Linked DNA regions of Homo sapiens: regions 1 and 3 are each linked to region 2. The links are contacts of gene promoters, found by promoter capture Hi-C in blood cells and fetal thymus (Javierre and others, 2016). All regions are on one chromosome and are shown on one strand. The core of a region is centred on a gene start or on the middle of the fragment in contact, and the rest is flanking DNA. Distances in the headings are between cores, read along the strand shown.

The links. The method cuts DNA at HindIII sites, captures the fragments that hold promoters and counts their contacts. A CHiCAGO score of 5 or more calls a contact.
Region 1: a fragment that was not itself captured here is called in contact with the fragment with the promoter of LCT in region 2 in 10 of 17 cell types (activated CD4 T cells, erythroblasts, M1 macrophages and 7 more); the score reaches 8.5 in activated CD4 T cells.
Region 3: a contact is called between a fragment that was not itself captured here and the fragment with the promoter of LCT in region 2, in 1 of 17 cell types (neutrophils). The highest score is 5.9, in neutrophils.

Annotation. Positions count from the first base shown.
Region 1 is chr2:136,380,062-136,382,761 of GRCh38, reverse strand. No RefSeq gene overlaps it. Among named protein-coding and RNA genes, the nearest start is that of CXCR4, 260 kb to the right of the region's middle. The HindIII fragment of the contact is 1,640 bases long and covers 623-2,262 here.
Region 2 is chr2:135,835,793-135,838,492 of GRCh38, reverse strand. It overlaps LCT (lactase), which reads left to right and starts at 1,309. Exons shown (of 17, transcript NM_002299.4): 1 at 1,309-1,963. The coding sequence starts at 1,324. The HindIII fragment of the contact is 13,164 bases long and covers 1-2,700 here.
Region 3 is chr2:136,361,429-136,364,128 of GRCh38, reverse strand. No RefSeq gene overlaps it. Among named protein-coding and RNA genes, the nearest start is that of CXCR4, 240 kb to the right of the region's middle. The HindIII fragment of the contact is 3,737 bases long and covers 1-2,700 here.

The DNA.
Region 1 (2,700 bases), core at 193-2,692, 540 kb before region 2:
CTGTTTTATTCACTGCTGAATCCCTTGCACCTAGCATATAGTAGGTGTGCAGTAAATGTCCAGTGAACTACTACATGAAAATCAGGAATATATGAAAAACATGTCTGTCTGATGGCAGGGCCGCCTTCCAGGGCACAGTTGCTCTGGCTGCCTGGGCAGCTTAACTCAAAGTCAAGTGAGGTCGTCAGTGACAGGTGCAACCACCACCCAGGCCGAAACTTTGGAGTTTGAGTGTCACGGAGAGTGAGAATGTCCTATTTCTGTTTGAGAAACACCACCACCAAGTTTCGTCAGCAGACCCTGCCTTTGACGCTGCACCACATCCCCTCCCCATTTCCTCTCAGTCAAAACGGAAGATGCTTTTCTTTCCAAACAAACTTCTCTTGAGCTTCAGGGCCCTCCCAGACCTCCCTAAACCCACCAATCCCAGCACCCTGCCTCCTACTCAGTCCTGCAATGAGTGACTTTGTCTGTACTCATTCAGATCCATACACACCCTGTGGTCGGCTGTGTTTGTTTCTGTTTTTAAAGGGCTGAAGCAACTGAGTCTCAGAAAGAGCAGGTGACTTCTTGAAGGTCACACAGCTAAAAGCCCCGTCAAGGGCATCCAGAGCATAAAGCTTTGTCATGACGCTAGTTGCTATTTAAGTGCTTGCTAGACTCTGCTAAGTGCTTCCTCACATGACCCCTGCCGATCCTCACACCAGCCCTGTGAGATGAGTATATTATGAAGCCCAGTTTATCAGAAGGCCTAAGTCACGAATTAGTTGGATAACCAGCTCAGGGTCACTCTGCTTGAAGTCACAGATCTGATTCTAACTCGGGACCGAAGCTGACCACATAGCCTCAACTCTCCCCTACATACTCATCACATGGCTGCTGGATGATTTTTCTCTGCTTCAGATTCTCACTTATTCCACTGGACGCTCCTTGAGCAATGGAGTCACATGGTGGGACAGGTGGCCCCTGGTCACTGAAAGGCATTCCACCCAGAGGGACCCAACTTCAGGAAGTAACAACCTCTAGCACCCCCACACCTGCCTCCCTACTTTTCTCCACGCCCCTTCTTTCTTGCTCTCCCATCCACTGCAGGCCCCCACCAGGCCTTTCCTCCCTGAACCCAAACTCTCCTCCTCCCAATTATCTTCACACCAAACTCAGCTGGTTTTCTAGGGGGATGCACCTGACAAGCACATTGACTGTGACTAGCACAGCACCTACCCCAAATATGGGGCATCCCTTTACAATTCAAGCACATCTTATTTCAGCCAAATCTACAGGGACCATTTCTGTCAATTCTGTAGTAAAAATTTTATAGCCCGGGGAGTTTCTCCACCAGGGGCACATGTACTTGCATTTTAACACAGAAAAACCTTAGGAGGGAGAAGAAGGCCCCAAACATGAAGGCTGTAAATATGGATGTTCACCTCTTAACCTCTCCTGGCCCCAGCCCTCTGAAGCTGGAGACTTAAGAATAGCTGCTATAGGGGGCCAGACATGATAGCTCAAACCTGTAATCCCAGCACTTTGGGAGGCCAAGGTGGGAGGGGATTACTTGATGTCGGGAGTTTGAGACCAGCCTGACCAACATGGAGAAACCCTGTCTCTACTAAAAATGCAAAAATTAGCTAGGCATGGTGGCGCATGCCTGTAATCCCAGCTATTCAGGAGGCTGAGGCAGGAGAATCGCTTGAACCTGAGAAGCAGAGGTTGTGGTGAGCCAAGATCATGCCATTGCACTCCAATCTGGGCAACAAGAACGAAACTCCATCTCAAAAAAGAAAGAAAGAAAGAAAAGCTGCTATATATCAAGCATCTACTCTGTGCCTTGCCGGCCATTTTTACTTGACCCCTAAAACCACTCCATGCAGTAGGTTGCATTGTCCCAGATTTACAGGTTTTAAAAAATGAGATCCAGGCTGGGCACAGTGGCTCACGCCTGTAATCCCAGCACTTTGGGGGGCCGAGGCAGGTGGATCACTTGAGGCCAGGAGTTCGAGACCAGCCTGGGAAACATGGCAAAACCTCATTTTTACCAAAAAAATATGAAAATTAGCCAGGCGTGGTGGTGTGCATCTTTGTCCCAGCAACTTGGGAGGCTGAGGTGGGAGGATTACTGGAGCCCGGAAAGTCAAGGCTGCAGTGAGCTGTGATCGCACCACTCACTCTAGCCTGGGTGACAAAGCGAGACCCTGTCTCAAAAAACTAAATACATAATAAAAACGAGAGCCAGAGAATAAATAACTTCCTGACTCCAAAGCTTTGCGTATTTGCCACTACAATTGGCTGCCTCCCTGATTCTCTTGGTGAGACTTAAGATTTTGCAAAGCAAAACCCAGCTCTTACCTTCCCACCCGATGCAGGCTAGAGGTTCGATCAGGGAGCCATTTATATTCAGCAGATAGTAGAGCCTGCGTACGATGTACAAGCAAACATTTGTATTCTAATCTGTGATTAGAGTTCTACTTCCAGCTCTGGAGTTCTTACTATATAATTGTGCCCACAAATCCAGTTTGATTTGCTGTTCTGCTTATTTATTCTTTGCATTGGAATTGTTTAGAGTCATTGGACTAACCAAAATTTTTAAATGGCAAATTAAACAAGAGGTGAATGTGCTAGCGTTGGAGCCATATTGATCCAATAGAACACGAAACAGGTCTTTTAATGTATGGATGAAATCTCCAAAGCTATTGACAATTT
Region 2 (2,700 bases), core at 60-2,559:
GCATAATTCCATATATGTTAAATTGTTCTATATTTTAAATGTTATACACGTTTCCATTTGTATTTACGTAATAATAATGATCCCTGAGCTGTACTGTTGTATACATGCTACAAGAAAGACCCATTTAATCCCCACAGCCTATGATGAATTATCCACATTCTACAGGTGACAAAATAGAGGCACAAAGTTAAGTAATTTTTGTCAGGTGAGATTTAAACCCAGGCATTCTGACTCCTGTATAACCATTAAGATATGCAGAGAAAGAAAACTGGAAAGATACATATTGCTGAAGATACTTATTATAGGAAGAGGAGGGGGGAGGGTGAAGGAATTTGCAAGTTTTTCATAGATGTTTCCATATTGTTTGAATCTCTTACAAAATATGTTCAGCATATTTTTAAAGAGAAAATTTGGGGCAAAATACTTATTTTTGTATTATGTAAACAAATTTTAAAATAATGTGTGGCTGGGTGCGCTGGCTCACACCTGTAATCCCAACACTTTAGGAGGCTGAGGCAAGAGGATTGCTTGAGCCCAGGAGTTCAAGACCAGCCTGGGTGACATGGCAAAACTCCATCTCTACTAAAAATACAAAAAATTAGCCAGTCGTGGTGGCGCACACCTATGGTCCCACCTACCCAGGATGCTGAGATGGGAGGATCACTTGAGCCCAGGAAGTCAAGGCTGCAGGAAGCTGTGATCGCACCACTGCACTCCCACCTGGGCAACAGAGTGAGACCCGGTCACCAAAAAACAAAAAAAACAAAAAAAATTGGTAATCGTTTTCTTCAGACATTTTCCGGGTTCCTCTGCTTAACTTGTATAGGAAGTCTGAGGTTTTTGTGTTGGTCTTTACCTTTTTTTTTTTTTTTTTTTTTTAAGATGGAGTCTCATTCTGTTGCCCAGGCTGGAGTGCAGTGGCATGATCTTGGCTCCTGCAACCTCCGCCTCCTGGGTTCAAGTGATTCTCCTGCCTCAGCCTCCTGAGTAGCCGGGACTACAGGCGCATGCCACGATGCCTGGCTAATTTTTTGTATTTTTAGTAGAGATGGGGTTTCACCATGTTAGCTAGGACGGTCTCGATCTCCTGACCTCGTGATCCGCCCACCTCGGCCTCCCAAAGTGCTGGAATTACAGGTGTGAGCCACCACGCCCGGCCCTGATCTTTACATTTTTAAATATTGCATTAGTGAACCGTGTACTGATTTTGTGATCATAGATAACCCAGTTAAATATTAAGTCTTAATTATCACTTAGTATTTTACAACCTCAGTTGCAGTTATAAAGTAAGGGTTCCACATACCTCCTAACAGTTCCTAGAAAATGGAGCTGTCTTGGCATGTAGTCTTTATTGCCCTGCTAAGTTTTTCATGCTGGGGGTCAGACTGGGAGTCTGATAGAAATTTCATTTCCACCGCTGGTCCTCTAACCAATGACTTGCTGCACAACCTGAGTGGTCTCCTGGGAGACCAGAGTTCTAACTTTGTAGCAGGGGACAAAGACATGTATGTTTGTCACCAGCCACTGCCCACTTTCCTGCCAGAATACTTCAGCAGTCTCCATGCCAGTCAGATCACCCATTATAAGGTATTTCTGTCATGGGCACAGCTCCTCCCAGCAGGAAGCACCCAGAATCCAGACGAGAAAACAGTGCAGTGCTACCGGCGACTCCTCAAGGCCCTCAAGACTGCACGGCTTCAGCCCATGGTCATCCTGCACCACCAGACCCTCCCTGCCAGCACCCTCCGGAGAACCGAAGCCTTTGCTGACCTCTTCGCCGACTATGCCACATTCGCCTTCCACTCCTTCGGGGACCTAGTTGGGATCTGGTTCACCTTCAGTGACTTGGAGGAAGTGATCAAGGAGCTTCCCCACCAGGAATCAAGAGCGTCACAACTCCAGACCCTCAGTGATGCCCACAGAAAAGCCTATGAGATTTACCACGAAAGCTATGCTTTTCAGGGTGAGTACACATTGACCTGATGGTGACCCCTCGGCAACCTTCATCACACACCTTCCCCATCCTCCTTAGAGCAGATTCGACATTTCTCCCAACTCACCTTCAGCAGTCCTCTTATGTCTGTGCATAGGGAGAAATTAATATTGTAAATTGATTTCCCACTGGCGATAGGAAGGGGTAGCTAACATGGCAAAACACTCAGCATTTCCTTTGAAAAATATCTTTGAGGCTCACGCCTGTAATCCTAGCACTTTGGGAGGCCGAGGTGGGCGGATCACTTGAAGTCAGGAGTTCGAGACCAGCCTGGCCAATATGGCAAAACCCCGTCTCTACTAAAAATACCAAAATTAGCCAGGGATGGTAGCAGGCGCCTGTGATCCCAGCTACTCGGGAGGCTTAGGCAGGAGAATTGCTTGAACCCAGGAGGCAGATGTTGCAGTGAGCCGAAATCATGCCACTGTACTACAGCCTGTGCGACAGAGCAAGACACAATCTCAAAAAAAAAAAATATGTATACATATATATATATATATATATATATATATATATATATATACACACATGTATTTTTGAAATACCCCTTGCCCAGTCTTGAGTTGTGCAAGCACTGATTGTCTTTCTGTCTTCCTTTCCGTCTATGTCCTGCTACCCTGACTTGGAGGCAAAGTTTCGTGGTTTCCTGTCCTTCCCCCTCGGCTCCCCTATACTTACATGTCTTAGTTGGAGCTTACATTGCAGCT
Region 3 (2,700 bases), core at 180-2,679, 530 kb before region 2:
CATTCTGGGCAAGCATTCAAGTTATTTCCACTCTAAAGTGTTATGTGGATTTACTAAACCAACAAGAAGTCTGGAGAGACACTTAAATCACTGTCTTTGCAAATTAGTATTTTCTGCTGGTACTGAACTTATTCCAACATAAAATCAATGAGGGGAAGGGGAAGAAGAGAGTGAAAATGAAGTACTTTTATCCTCTGAAGTGCAACATATATATTCCTGCACTCTGTGGAGCTGTTTCTCTGCTTCCCTGTTCACTTAGGGAGACCGAGACACCCAGGCAAAGGCACCCACCGATAGCGGCTAAGTCAAGAAAGGGGTGAAGGGCAGTCGGAGAGGCTCCCATATAACTTCATCAAGAAGTCTGCCAAGAAGTGCAGTCCCAAAAGAGTGAGAGAAACCAGCTTGCTGGACTTTTCTTCCCTAGTCACAGGACATGATGGGGGCAGTTCTGGGTACTCTGAGGTTAAGAGCACAAAGTGCTCTTACAAAGCTGGTTCTGAAGGGAACACACAGCACTTCCTAAGGCAGCGCCTCTTAACCTCAACCGCAGTTTACAATTAGGGAAACTAACAAAAAAATGCAGACAACCAAGCCCCACCCCCAGAGATTCAGTTGCAATTGATTTGCAGCAGGTCATTGGTATTATCTAAAAGCATACCAGGTAATTCAAGTGCACAGCCTCTCCCCTAAGATAGAGTCTCACTCTGTCGCACAGCCTAGAGTGCAGTGGCACAATCTCAGCTCACTGCAACCTCCACCTCCCGGGTTCAAGCGATTCTCCTGCCTCAGTCTCTCAAGTAGCTGGGATTACAGGCATGCGCCACCATACCAGGCTAATATTTGTATTTTTAGTAGAGACAGGGTTTCACCATGTTGGCCGGGCTGATCTTAAACTCCTGACCTCAGGTGATCCGCACGCCTCAGCCTCCCAAAGTGCTGAGATTACAGGCATGAGCCACCGCACCCGGCCTCAGGAGGACTTTTAAGAGAAATGGATTCCTGGAGCTGACCATAAATTGAGTGAAATCAGTTAAGCCCCAGCTCTAAACTCAGCTCTGCCACTTATTGCATGACCTTAATTTGGCTCAACTTCAGTTTCCTTACCTGAACCACGGGGACAATAATACCTACCCTGCAGTGATAGTGGTAATTGAGATGATATATGCAAAAGAGCTCCTGGCACAAGGTTATTAACAGTCATCTCTACCCAAGATTGGTTCATCTGTGGTCAAGTACATCTTTGTGGTCATGATTCAGAACCAAAGAGAAGCCAGCACCTTACATGACTCATTTACTTTCACCCCCATTTGTAGAGGAAGGTGTTCACCCACAGCACCCACCTGGTTCTTTCTGGATCTAACACTGGTCTTTGGCTTGAATGGCAAGTCTTACAGCAGTTAACTCTCAGTTATTCACAGGAATGGAAGAGAATTATGGGAAGGTAACCAAGAGATTCCCTATCTGGGATGTGAAGTGTATCACAGGCAGTGGTAAGCAGAATAATGGACTCCTCTAAAGATGTCCATGACCTACTCCCCAGAATCTGTGAACATGTCAGTTTACATGGCAAAGAAGAATTAAAGTTGTAGATGGAGTTGAGTTTGCTAATTAGATGACCTTGACATAGGAGATTATCCTGGATTTGGAGTAGTCCCAGTGGAATCACAGGGTCTTTTTCAGTGGAAGAGGGATGCAGAAGAGAGAAACCTGGAGAGATGATGGTATAAGAAGGACTCAAGCCGCTGTTGCTGGTAGAAGCAACAGGAAGAAATGGCTGGGAGCAAGGAATGTGGATGGCCCTAAGAAACTAGAAAAGGCATGGAAATAGGTTCTCTCCTAGAGCCTGAAGAAAGAATGCATCCCTGCTAGCTCAAACCCTGTGTCCTCCATCTGACCTCCAGCATTGTAAGATAATACATTTGTGTTGCTTTAAGCCACTAAGTTTGTGATAACTTGGTACAGCAGCCATAGAGAACTAATAGGCCAAACACTTGTGTAACCAGGTTTCCAGGCCCTCTCCATAGTGCCCCTGACTAAATTAGGTGGCTGTGTGGTAACTCAGGAGCCTGCAGGCAGGGAAGAAAATGACCTCAACAAGCAGTGCTTGAGAACAAAATACAAGTCCTGAGGTTCATTCATTCATTCACTCAAGCACCATCGCTGAGCATCTTCTTTGTCCTGAGCAGTGGATACCAGCTGAGTAAACCATGGTCTCAGGCTTCAAGGACCTCTCCACCTGGAAGCAGGAGGCAGAGACAAACAGGGCATTAGGAGTGCTGCAATCTATGTCCAGTGTCAGGAAGTGATGTTCCAGCTGAATTTGGCAATGCGAACAGGTATTTGTGGAGCCAACTAAATTGCAGGAAAGCAGAGCAGTGTGAGCCACTGCAAGGGCTCTTGTGAAGACATCACTCATAAACCACCCACACTGCCTGAAATCAATGGGTGAGACTCATCCTCTGCATACTCTCCCCGAGAACACATGTCACATCCTCCACTGGATCCACCACAGGCTCTGGGAGCACGGGAACCCTGGCTCATGCCTCTCTCACACACCAATAGCATAGACTCTCTGACATGTAGTAGGTGCTCATTTAAAAAGTTGTTGAGGGAAGGAATGGATGGAGAGAGAGAAGGAAGAAGGGAAGGTGAGACATCAAATTCCAAAACTCCCTCATTTCTCACCCTCACTCCAGGAGT